Linked DNA regions of Homo sapiens: region 2 is linked to region 1. Evidence: promoter capture Hi-C in 16 types of primary human blood cells and fetal thymus (Javierre and others, 2016). All regions are on one chromosome and are shown on one strand. Each heading gives the region's core, a stretch centred on a gene start or on the middle of the fragment in contact. The rest is flanking DNA. Distances are from core to core; before and after follow the strand shown.

What was found. The method cuts DNA at HindIII sites, captures the fragments that hold promoters and counts their contacts. A CHiCAGO score of 5 or more calls a contact.
Region 2: a contact is called between a fragment that was not itself captured here and the fragment with the promoter of L3MBTL4 in region 1, in 1 of 17 cell types (total B cells). The highest score is 5.3, in total B cells.

Annotation. Positions count from the first base shown.
Region 1 is chr18:6,412,870-6,418,483 of GRCh38, forward strand. L3MBTL4 (L3MBTL histone methyl-lysine binding protein 4) reads right to left here and starts at 2,042. Exons shown (of 19, transcript NM_001330559.2): 1 at 1,932-2,042. RefSeq lists a silencer at 1,545-2,084. The HindIII fragment of the contact is 5,527 bases long and covers 6-5,532 here.
Region 2 is chr18:5,239,762-5,245,567 of GRCh38, forward strand. It overlaps LINC00667 (long intergenic non-protein coding RNA 667), which reads left to right. Exons shown (of 3, transcript NR_015389.1): 2 at 1,938-2,051; 3 at 3,833-5,806. It also overlaps the pseudogene LOC100422274. Among named protein-coding and RNA genes, the nearest start is that of LINC00667, 4.6 kb to the left of the region's middle. The HindIII fragment of the contact is 1,332 bases long and covers 912-2,243 here.

The DNA.
Region 1 (5,614 bases), core at 792-3,291:
ATGCAAGCTTACTTCTCTTTAAAGTGAAAGTTAAATGAGTTTCCGTCTCTACAAAAAAAAAAAAATTAGAAAATTAGCCAGGCATGGTGGTGCACAGCTACCCTCCCAGTCAATAGGCTGAGGCGGGATCCTTTGAGCCCAGGAGGTTAAGGCTGCAGTGAGCCATGATGGTACCACTGCACTTCAGCCTGGGTGACAGAGTGAGACCCTATCTCTAAAAAATAAAAATAAAATGTTTAAAAAGTGAAAGTTAACACAGTTCCTTCACTTTCATTACCTCTGTCTTCACCAGATCACCTTCCCACCAATACCCTTTCTTTGGAAACTGAGTGAGAGCACACTGCAGAGGTTAACCAAGCTGAACATTTCTTGTGACCCCAATATTGTACAGCAAAGTGCTAAGTGATTCTGCAGTCAAGGGTTACATGCAATACATCCTCAATGTTGCCTCACATCTAAGAGCATAATTAATAGCAGTTTTATGTTCATCTTCCTTCCTACTCAACCATTACACACCAAGTCAGTGTAGTCGAATCCAATCCCTTTGGATACTCCAAGAAAAAAACCTCTCCTCTTTCAACCGTTTCTCCTAATTCTGTAGTAATATAAGGAATGCATTCCAAGTTTTTAATATTACCAAGGGCCAAAAACAACTCTACTGTACCCACCACCTGTTTGTCACCTTAACCTTTTTAGGTGGAATAGATTAGAAAACCGAAGAGCCACACTACACTTATTTCAGCCAAGGACTGAAACTGGAGCCTGCCACAAGCATCTTCTAGAACAGCTCCAACAGAAGGATCCAGGAGATGGGCCACCAGCAAGTCATAGTGGAGTCCAAACAAGTGTGAAGTGAGAGCGAGTCTTCAGCATGGGAATGGCCGAGTGGGTCGTGGTGACCAGCTGCCTTCCTCTGACTGTTAAGTACAGCAGTCTCAACAGTAACAATGACCAGGCCTTCCCTTTATTTAGTTCCACCTCGGGGCATTGGCGCATTAAGAATGTCCCTCTAAAGGCATATGTAAGATAAAGCACACTTCGCACTTTAACCAGTGACTAAGGGAGATCAAAAGCAGGGGACAATACCCACCCGGAATTTGCGACCTCGCGAAAACGCTCTCACCAATCCCGCAGGTAAGTGCGGCGCTGGCCCAGGTGTGCCCAGCTCGACTCGCGTCCACCTGGGACCAAGCGGGCCCAAGAAGGCCCGGAGAGCAGGCGAGGGCGACTGTGGCCGGCGCGCCCCCCGCAGTTCCAGGCGGTGGCAGGAGCCTGAGAGCCGCCGTCCCAGGCTGGCCAGGCGCCCGCCCGCCCTGCGCGCACTCCCTGGGCTCCCGCTCCCGAGGCTGGGCAGAACTCGCAGAGGAAGACAAGGGCAGAAAGCGGGTGGAGGGAGGCAGCGCTCGCCCGTCCGGGCACACGACACTTGTCGGCTGAGGGGGACACGCGGGCAGACGGGGGCGTTAGCCCCAGAGGAAACAAAAGCCAAATGCCCACCGCCGGGCGCTCGATGGCCGGAGGACTGCCTGGGGGCCCTCAGGAGTCCCGTCCCGTCCCGCTCCCCCGGTCCCAGGCTGCGCTGGCTCCAGGGCGCCCAGGTAGCCGCGCCTGGCACCCCGACCCTGCCCTCGCGGCTGACCGAGGCGCCGGGCTCTGCGGCGGCCGCGCCCGTCCAAAGTAGGCGACAAGTGAGGCAGCGCCTCTCGCGGGGAGCCCGGCGCGCGCCCCGGCGGCGAAAGAGAAAGAGAAAGAGCCTGGGCCGGGACCGGGGCTATCCCCAACCGCCACCGCCCCCACCGGCCCGGCCCTCGCCGCGGGAGTCGTGCAGGCCCCTCTACCTGCCCGGGGATGGGGCCACCCCGCGCGGCGGCGGCCGTGGGCACCCACGCGGGCTCGCGACCATCCCACGCGGGCGGCGGCGTCCTTCTTACCCCCAGCGGAGCGGCGCCTGCCCGCAACGCCGACCGAGCTACAGGCGGGGGGCGAGTCGGAGCGCGAGGTTCCGCCAGCCCAGGCTGCGGCGCCGCTGCCCCGCGGTGCCCGGCGGGAGGGGCGCGAGGGTGCACGCGCGGGGTGGGGGCGCGGGAGCCGCCCCCTGCCCGCCCCGCGCGCATGCTCCCGCCGCACCTGCCTCGCTCAGTGTTCCACACCCCGGGGAGCCGGGTGGCGCTGGGCCCGCCGAGGTCGGGGCTTTCCCATGGGAGGGAGGTGGCTGCGGCGGAATTTTCAGATGCGTCCTTCTCTGTATTCGTTCCCTGGGAAGGATTCCCCCAAATCTTGGCTACTTCCTGCCTGCCAGCTTGCTCCCTGGCAGCGAAGTCCCAGTAGCTCACCCATGCTTCATCCCAGCTCTTGGGGTTCACCGTCTGAAGGCTCTCTCCTCCGGATCCCTCTCGGTCCTGCTGCTCGCTCCGATTTTGCAACCTCCCCCACTCCCCTTTCCTGCTCTTGACTTTGCTACTCACGAGTACCTGGATACCATTTCCAAATAAAAGAATACTCTTTCCAAGTGGCAAGCAGTGTTTACTGACCCTGTTCTAACTGCTTGGAATTGAGCAGGAAACAGGAGCTGGGTAGATCCTGCCCTCATGGAACTTATGGCCTTACTGGCTAGCTTTGGCCTTTCTCAAAGCATTGTCTCCCAGTTTGGGAGGACTGTATTAAATCATTTATTTTGGCTTACAAATAAAGGTAGCTGATAATTGAAGACTATATGTTGTGACTTTTGAATGAAATGTTCTTTCATAGGACGCCTTGTGTATAAACCCTAGTATGCAAATAATAAATAGTAGGTACTAAATAAGTATTAGTTTGTTGCTTTCAGCAGGAAATTGAATCATTTAGCAGGATTAACAATGATACCATCCAAAATGATCTTTTTGGTTTGTCGTGGGCTACCATAAACAGAGAATGAAAACTTGCTTTTTAGGTGAGACTGGGCATTGTTGAAACATAATTTCGTGTCCTTACTGAAAAGAGAAATATAAACCCCTTTGCTAATGAAGTTTTTAAACTAGGAACAATGATCATAGAAATTTGTAAGTGCAAACACACGATTTGTGTTCTGTGCTCTAGTCAGTTAAGAAAAATATATTAGCCAGGTATGGCGGCTCACATCTGTAATCCCAGCACTTTGGGAGGCCGAAGAGGGCGGATCACTTGAGGTCAGGAGTTCGAGACCAGCCTGGCCAACATGGTGAAACCCTGTCTCTACTAAAAATACGAAATTAGCTGGGTGTGGTGGCGGGCGCCTGTAATCTCAACTACTCGGGAGGCTGAGACACTAGAATCGCTTGAACCTGGGAGGCAGAGGCTCCAGTGAGCTGAGATAGTACCACTGCACTCCAGCCTGGGCAACAGAGCGAAACTCCAACTCAAAAAAAAAAAAAAGAAGAAGAAAAAGAAAAACAAAAAGAAAAAGATATTAGAGACAAAGAGAAAAAGAAAGAAGTAGAAGACCTCAGTAGCGAGAGGAAAACATTTGAAACTCAGTTCCAACCAATTTTAACATTGTGCTAAGGACTTACAGTGTTGCATTACTGTGACAATGGGCATGCCTGCAGGTACCACCTTTGGTTGGATACTTGTTCACCAGATTGGATGAAATTAGAACGGGACTCAGCAGGTGAGAGTTCCACCTCCCTGCTACTCACAGGAACACGGATACCATTTTTGGTGAAGGATAAAGTGCTTCAATTATTGCAGTGTATCCCCAGTCCATCCCAGAGGTATTTATTTATCATTGGAGATTCTAGGTATTAGTAATAGAGATATCAAAATGTCCCCAGCACAGAAAGAGTTAAGTGCACTTCTGGTTCCAGGAGCCCTTCAGAAAAGTGAATATTGATGTTATAATATATGAAATCAAAGAAGAAAGCTGGATTGAAATCCAAATAAAGTGAATTTACATCAGCTTATCTTCACTTCTTGGGGGGAAACAATTGTTTTTATAACATGTTTATTGACTATATTTGGTTTAAGTTTATGAAAGCAGACACACTGTTTTCAGGGGCTGGGTTTACATAAGGAAAAGGATACACCAATGAAACAAGTTGAAACAGGCAGGAAACCTCATCTACAGCTACTTAAATGTAAGTGCATAGGTGCATAGTGCTGACAACATATGATTCTGTTCAGAGAAGCTGACATCTGTCTTAAACTACACTGTTATTCAAATTTTATGGAAATATAAGCAGGAACGCATTAGTACACTTCTTACAAAATTTTTGAAAGCTGTTGTAGTAAATCCCTTTTATCTGAACGGCTGCAGATTAAAATGAAATAGCCATATTGTTGATTTTTATAACTTTGCTAATGATCCATCATGAGCAAAGGGGTTTATAGCATTGGTAGTTGCTAGGCATTTTACTTTTATAATTCAGTTGAATCCAACCAACTCTCAATGCAAAGTTGACCAGATAGACAAGGATGGTTTATTGTTAAGATAGAAATTTCTGATGGCATGATACAGAGAACCCCTTTCTGGAGGTCATCAAAACATAACAGGCACAGCAGTCCTATAATGTGTCCATCTATTGTCAATGAAAATGAAACTTTCCACCTGCTAAGATAGTGACTGGTTTTATCCAAGGAACTCTCCATTTTAAAAACTTCGCTAAACTTGTTTACATTTTTCTGGCTGGTTGTGTATGTTTCTTTTCTTTACTTTTCTTTTTTGAGACAGGATCTTGCTCTGTCACCCAGGCTAGAGTGCAGTGGTATGATCATGGCTCACTGTAGCCCCCACCTCCCAAGCTCAACTGATCCTCCCACCTCAGCCTCCAGAGAAGCTGGGACCACAGGCATGTGCCACCACTTCTGGCTAATTTTTTAAATTTTTTTGTAGCGATGGAGGTCTCACTGTATTGCCTAGGCTGGTCTCAAATTGCTGGGGTCAAGCAATCCTCCCCGCTTAACCTCCCAAAGTGCTGGCATTACAGTCATGAGCCACAAGGCCTGGCCTATATTTCTTTTCTAAGTAGGATTAAATTACATTGCTTTATTATTTGATCAATAGCAGGATTGGCTCTTGGTAGCAGTGTGGGTTTTTTCTGTGTTTTTTTGAGACAAGGTCTCGCTTTATCACCCAGGCTGGAGTGCACTGGTGCCACCACAGCTCACTGCAGCCTTGACCTCTGGGCTCAGGTGATCCTCCTGCCTCAGCCTCCTGGGTAGCTGGGACCACAGGTGTACAGCACTATGCCTGGCTAATTTTTAAACTATTTGTAGAGATGGGGTTTAATATGTTTTTAAGACTTGAGATTGTTTCTTAGCATATATTTTGAATATGACCATTTGGGAGAATTTAACACAGAGTGAATTTCTTTATATGCTTTGGTATAACTGAGGAGAAGTTATCTTAACAGAATTCTATACTTGCTTGGACAAGCAAATTTTCCACAGCAACCAAAAATATTTCATTAGTCACTATCTTCAACAACTATTATCATCAAGTTTATTTTCATGTTAATGCCACTGTTAATAATTTTCTATGTTACAGTTGTGTTTTCCTACATGGATGGTCCAATATTAAGCTTCCTTTAGTGGGTCGAGGTATAAATAATTGCATAGCATACTATTTAAATGTAAATACTGGTTCAGAAAGAAGTGTAAA
Region 2 (5,806 bases), core at 328-2,827, 1.2 Mb before region 1:
CTGATCACTCTCTCCTTCGTGGACAGTTTATCTACCTAAAGATGATAGGGGAAAACACTGTTTTTGAAAGACGAAATAAAGACATGTTGTAGCAGTTATTTTATTGCCAGTTAGTATTACAAAAGTTCCTAAGGAACTCCCCATTAACTTGGCCTCATATGAACTACGCTTGAGTCCCGTTTTAAATTGAGTCTTGATCGTATTTACTGACAGTTTCAAAGCAGCGTTTTTTTTTTTCCTCCATAGTAAAAAACCTACAGGATACCACCACCAAAGGAAAAAACAAGTTTTTTTCAGTAAACCTCACAAGAGCATACATTTGATAGAATACACGGATTTTCTAATGAAAGCTCGCCGTCACCATTTTATAAGTCAGAACATGAAAGTCAAAATATCTCATACAGATGTCTTTTTTTTTTGAGAAGGTACACAAGGCTTGCTTGTAGAGATGGAGTTACATGGAGGGACAGAAGGTCACTGGTCAGTGATTTTAGGTTTTTATACTTCTGAAAACAGGTAATTACAGATTCTGATCAGTTTATCATTTTCTTTAGTCTTTTATTTTCTGCTGAATGCTCTCAAGGGAACGGATCCATACCTGTTTATCAGGCTCACCTGGAAGAGCCAAGTCATCCACTCAGGTCTTCCTCTGGACCTGCATAATTTCCTCATTTACTAGATTGGGTTTCTTTTATGTGTGGGCTTTTAATGCTTGGTATCTCTGGTCTTCCTAATATGTAATGCTTAGCATAATAATTTTAGCCATTATTCATTTTTGTAGTAGGCTTCACTAGCTTCCTGCTTCTCAAATCCCTTGAAAAGATGAGATTTTTTTTTCGTGGAGTTCACGTCTAGTAAGTTGGTCTTGATTTTTTTTTTCTTTCAGAACCTTCTGGATTTCAGCTTTGGCAAGCTTCCTCTGTTTCTGAGACACCTCCATCACCTGGGTTACAATCCCATCCATGATTTTCCCCATCTCCAGGCATTTTTCATGGAAAGCTCCTCATGCTTTTTAATTCCAGTTTATCCATTTGTGTGGCTTTAACCTCCACATCCAGGTCTTTCTGGCTAAACTGCAGTATATCCACAATGGGGCCAATGGACACATAAGGGAGGCCCTATCACAGGAACACGAACACCCGGAGTCGCTAGAAATCAGATTCCACCGGCTTTGCTTCAGGCCGACTTCCTAAGGAAGGCATGGTAGCATCACAGATGCTGTTTGTCTCAGTTTCCTGAGAAGCCAGTTTCTTAGAGCTGTCATTCAAGAGTGGGTCAAATTTGAGATATAAAAACCTTTCTCAAGGTAGACTCTTTGGCCCCTATGCCTAGTATGTCAGCTGGGCCTCTGAAGCTCTCCTCTTTGAGGTCCTGGCAGGCTCTGGCCCCTGTTGAGAAGGGGAAGCAGTCATGTGAACTCATGTGCTGGAAGAATCCACTCTACCCCTTCCCTGGCTTCTCTGCTGCAATTTTTGTCTTTAAACGTATTTTCAGGTGATTCCAGTTTGCATACATAATTGAGAAATATAAGATTTGGTCCCCAGTAGAGAGCCAGGTGAACTTAAGAAGGAGTCCATCTAAGAAAATTGCACAATTATCTAGTTTCACTTGGGTTTAGCTTTTATGGCTTACTTGATTTAGTAATCAAATGATTTTCAAATGATTTTGATCAGGTGACTCTTCGTAAACTAGAGAATGAACTTGAGAGCCGAATTAGCACAGTTTAAAAATAATCATTTAGTTTTTGTTCTCTATTGTGTAAATTATTGAGGTTTGACTGTCTTGGCTAAACTAAGGCTCATCTAATATCTTTATTTTTGATATCCTAATTTCTTGCCAATTAATTGAAGGTAACATACTAGCAGACCAGATAACTACTTATGCAAACCTCAGATAACCACTAATTTAAACAAAATTAAATCCTTTGCCTTCCCCAGATCCTTTGCACATGGCCTGCTATCAACAATCCTCTACAATGATTCTCAGCATCACCTAGGGAGCTTATGTAAAATCTCAAATTCCTGGGCCCTATCCCCAGAGTTTCTTATCAAGTAAGTCTGCATTGGGATCTGAGGATTTGCATCTCTAACAAAAATTCCTAGGCGATGCTCACACTGTTGGTGTAAGGGTGAGTACAAATTAGAAATAAAACTATTTAATTCTGCCTGGTGCAAAGGAGAGAGAGAGACTTTTACCCTCCACATCCTTTTCTTTGGTCATTTACTTTAGGAAACTTAATTGTAAGCTTTTTCTGTGCCTCTTTGAAATGCCTGTAAATCTTTCCAAAAACTAAATTAGGCTTTTGCCAATTTTACAACCTAAGAATGTGAATTCCTCAAGGACCTGGGAGCTATCTCACTGAAATTTAATCATTGAGAAAAATAGTACCCCTATCTTTCAGCTTCCTGGAAACATAAGAGCCTAACTTTATTAGGCACCTTGCTCCATTACAAAGCTATCTTCTGTCATAAAGATACAAGAAATTTATTTTTCCCTTGGACAAAAGCAACTAACTAGCAGAGGGTCACCAAAATTACCAGGTGAATTTAGGGTGAACTCTGTGTGACAAATGGTGCTGCCAAGTTCTCTTGAGTACTATAGAAAGTGCATGACATGAATTTTTTACTTCATGATGGTGCAAAACCATTGCTTTTCACTTTCAGTATAATATTCAAGAAATTACATATTGAATATAAGATATTCAATATCTTATTCTTTATTATAGGCTTTGTGTTATATAATTTTGCCCAACTAACTGTAGGCTAATGTAAGTGTTCTGAACATGTTGAAGGTAGGTTAGACTAAGCTCTAATGTTCAGTAGGGTAGGTGTATTAAGTGCATTTTCAACTTACGAAATTTAAGCTGATATCCAAAGAATGAGTAAGAATGAGGTAAAGGAGCAAGAAAACATTGCTTCAGGCAAAGGAATAGTATGTGCAAAAGCCCTGGGGTTTAAGAATATGATGTTTTTAGAGAACTGCAAATAATTCAGTATGGTTGGAGCAGAGGGATGTGGAATGATTATTGATTCTGTTGGAGAGTAGACAGAGGCCAGATTGCTATGCTTAGATACAATTTCAACCACCTACAAATCCATCTAATTACCTACATGACCATCATCATCTGGTCATGTTTCTCCATTTTATCATTATGTATACCTTAAAGACTTGCTCACATTACTTAAAATTGAGATAGGTTAGGCATCTATCCAATCTCCCATGCCAGTAATTCTACAGAAACAGATTAGGTTAGCTAGATAAGCATGTTTACAATTAAATTTATGCTGTATCCTTCTAATCACCACTTTCTCATCAAAATGCTCACAAATCATCTGCATCATTGTCCATTCTTTAAAAATGTATAAACCCATCTCTACTAAAAATACAAAATTAGCTGGGCATGATGGCGCACGCCTGTAATCCCAGCTGTTCAGGAGGCTGAAGCAGAAGAATTGCTTGAACCCCGGAGACGGAGGTTGCAGTCAGCCGAGATTGCACCATTGCTCTCTAGCCTGGGCAACAAGAGCAAAACTCCATCTCAAAAAAAAAAAAAAAAGTATAAATTTGTATCAAGCATGCTGGCTTGAGGGTTTAAGGAATTTCTTTTTTTTATTTCTGACATACTTCTGTGGAGTGTGTTTTGCTTTCATTTTTGTTGTATTGTTTGTAATTTACACTATTAACAGTTTCTATTAGTGCTGTGGAATTAATTCCTCTTGTGCTGAAGATAGAAATATATTATTTCTAGGAAGAAATTGTCCTTATCGTCTTCACTAATATTGGACTTAGAGAGTCCTCCTATAAGACATGTTCTGTTTTTCATTTTGAACAGTTTCCTTGATGGAGAACTATCAAAGCAGTCAAAGCTATCAAAATAAAAAAGAATTCTGATTGGGTGCAGTGGCTCACACCTGTCATTCCAGCACTTTGAGAGGCCAAGGTGGGCAGATCACATGAGGCCAGGAGTTCAAGACCAGCCTGGCCAACATGGCAGAAACCCCATCTCTACTAAAAATACCAAAATTAGCCGGGCATGGTGGAACACACCTGCAATCCCAGCTACTCGGGAGGCTGAGGCAAGAGAATCGCTTGAACCTGGGAGGCAGAAGTTGCAGTGAAACAAGTTGGTGCCAATGCATTCCAGCCTGGATGATGGAGCGAGACTCTGTCTCAAGAAAAAAAAAACAAAAACAAAAACAGAACTCTGCCTCATAGCGTCTTTTAAGTTATACACTGGACCTATCCTTTCCTCACTGACAGACATTTTAAAAATTTTTTGGTAAGGCCTAGTTCATATAAAATGTAATCCAAGCCAAAAGTTAACAAGAATAAGGGGAGGAAAGGGGACTCCAATAGCAGAGAAAGGTATTTACCTGGGATATACACTGCAAGAAAATCAAAGCTATAAGAAACGTCCATGAATAGTAGCCATAAGGCATCAGAGTGATAAAATTCCTGTCCCTAGGAGGGAATATTGGAGTTTGCCAGAGAAACAGAATGAGAGAGACAGAGAGGTTTATTGTAGGAATTGGCTCATATGATTACGGAGGCTGAGAAGACCCACGATCTGCCATCTGCAAGCTGGAGAATCAGGAAAGCTGGAGGTGTAATTCAGTCAAGTCCAATGGCCAGAGAAGCAAGTGTACTGATATCCAAGAGCAGGAGAAAATAGATGTCCCAGAACAAGCAGAGAGGCTGATTTTGTCCTTCCTCTGCCTTTTTGTTTCATATGGGGCACTGAATGGACTGATGCCCATCCACATTAGTGAGGGTGGATCTTCTTTACTCAGTCTACCAGTAGAAATGTCAATGACTTCCAGAAACACCCTCACCAACACACGTGGAAATAATGTTTTACCAGGTATCTGGGCATCCCTTGGTTCACTCAAGTTGACACAAAATTAACCATCACAGAAGGAGACTGGCCTTACTCTGAAATTAGGAAACTAAAGAAGTGACCAGAATGGAGACTAGGTAGAGACAACTAGTTCTCTACCAAACATGTACAGTTATTCGTTGGTATCTGAAGGGGATTGGTTCCAGGAACTCTCAGGGATACCAAAATCTGCAGGTGCTCAAGTCATTTATATAAAATATTACAGTATTTGCATATAACCTTTGCACATCTTCCATATACTTTAAATCATCTCTACATTACTTATAATAATGAATGTGTAAATGCTATGAAAATAGTTACTACACTATTGTTTATTTGTATTTTTATTGAATTGTTTTGGGGTGGGGGGCAGCTGTATCTTTCTTAGTAATAGAACCCCTGGTTTTAGCTGGGCACATGACTGCCCTCAATAAAGATTAAAGTACCCCAGCCTTCCTTGAGATTGTGGCCATGTGACTGAACTTTAGACAGTGAGATATAAGCAGATATCTTCTGTGGCAGTGTTAGGAAACTATTAAAGACAGTAAGAACATTGCCCTTTGCCTTCTTTTTCCTTTCTTCATTTTTCTGCCTGGAATGCAAATGTGATGGCTAACACCCTAGCAGCCATTTTAGATTATGAAGATGAGAGTCACTCCCCAGGAAGGGTGGACCTGAAAGCTGGATTCTAGATGTGGAATGACAATACCAGCCCTGGACTACCTACCTGTAGGCTGTGTGTGTGTGTGTGTGATTGACAGAGAGAGAGAGAGATAGATACCACAAGTAACACAAAGCATCATACCTGGGACTGGGAAGGTTAATGTTTAAACATTTTAAATGTGGCATTGGTTTGTTGAAGACAGTCAAGCAGTAGGTGCTGCAGGCTTTGTTGAGGCTAGAAAGCTGTTGGTCTTTATTAGGTGATGG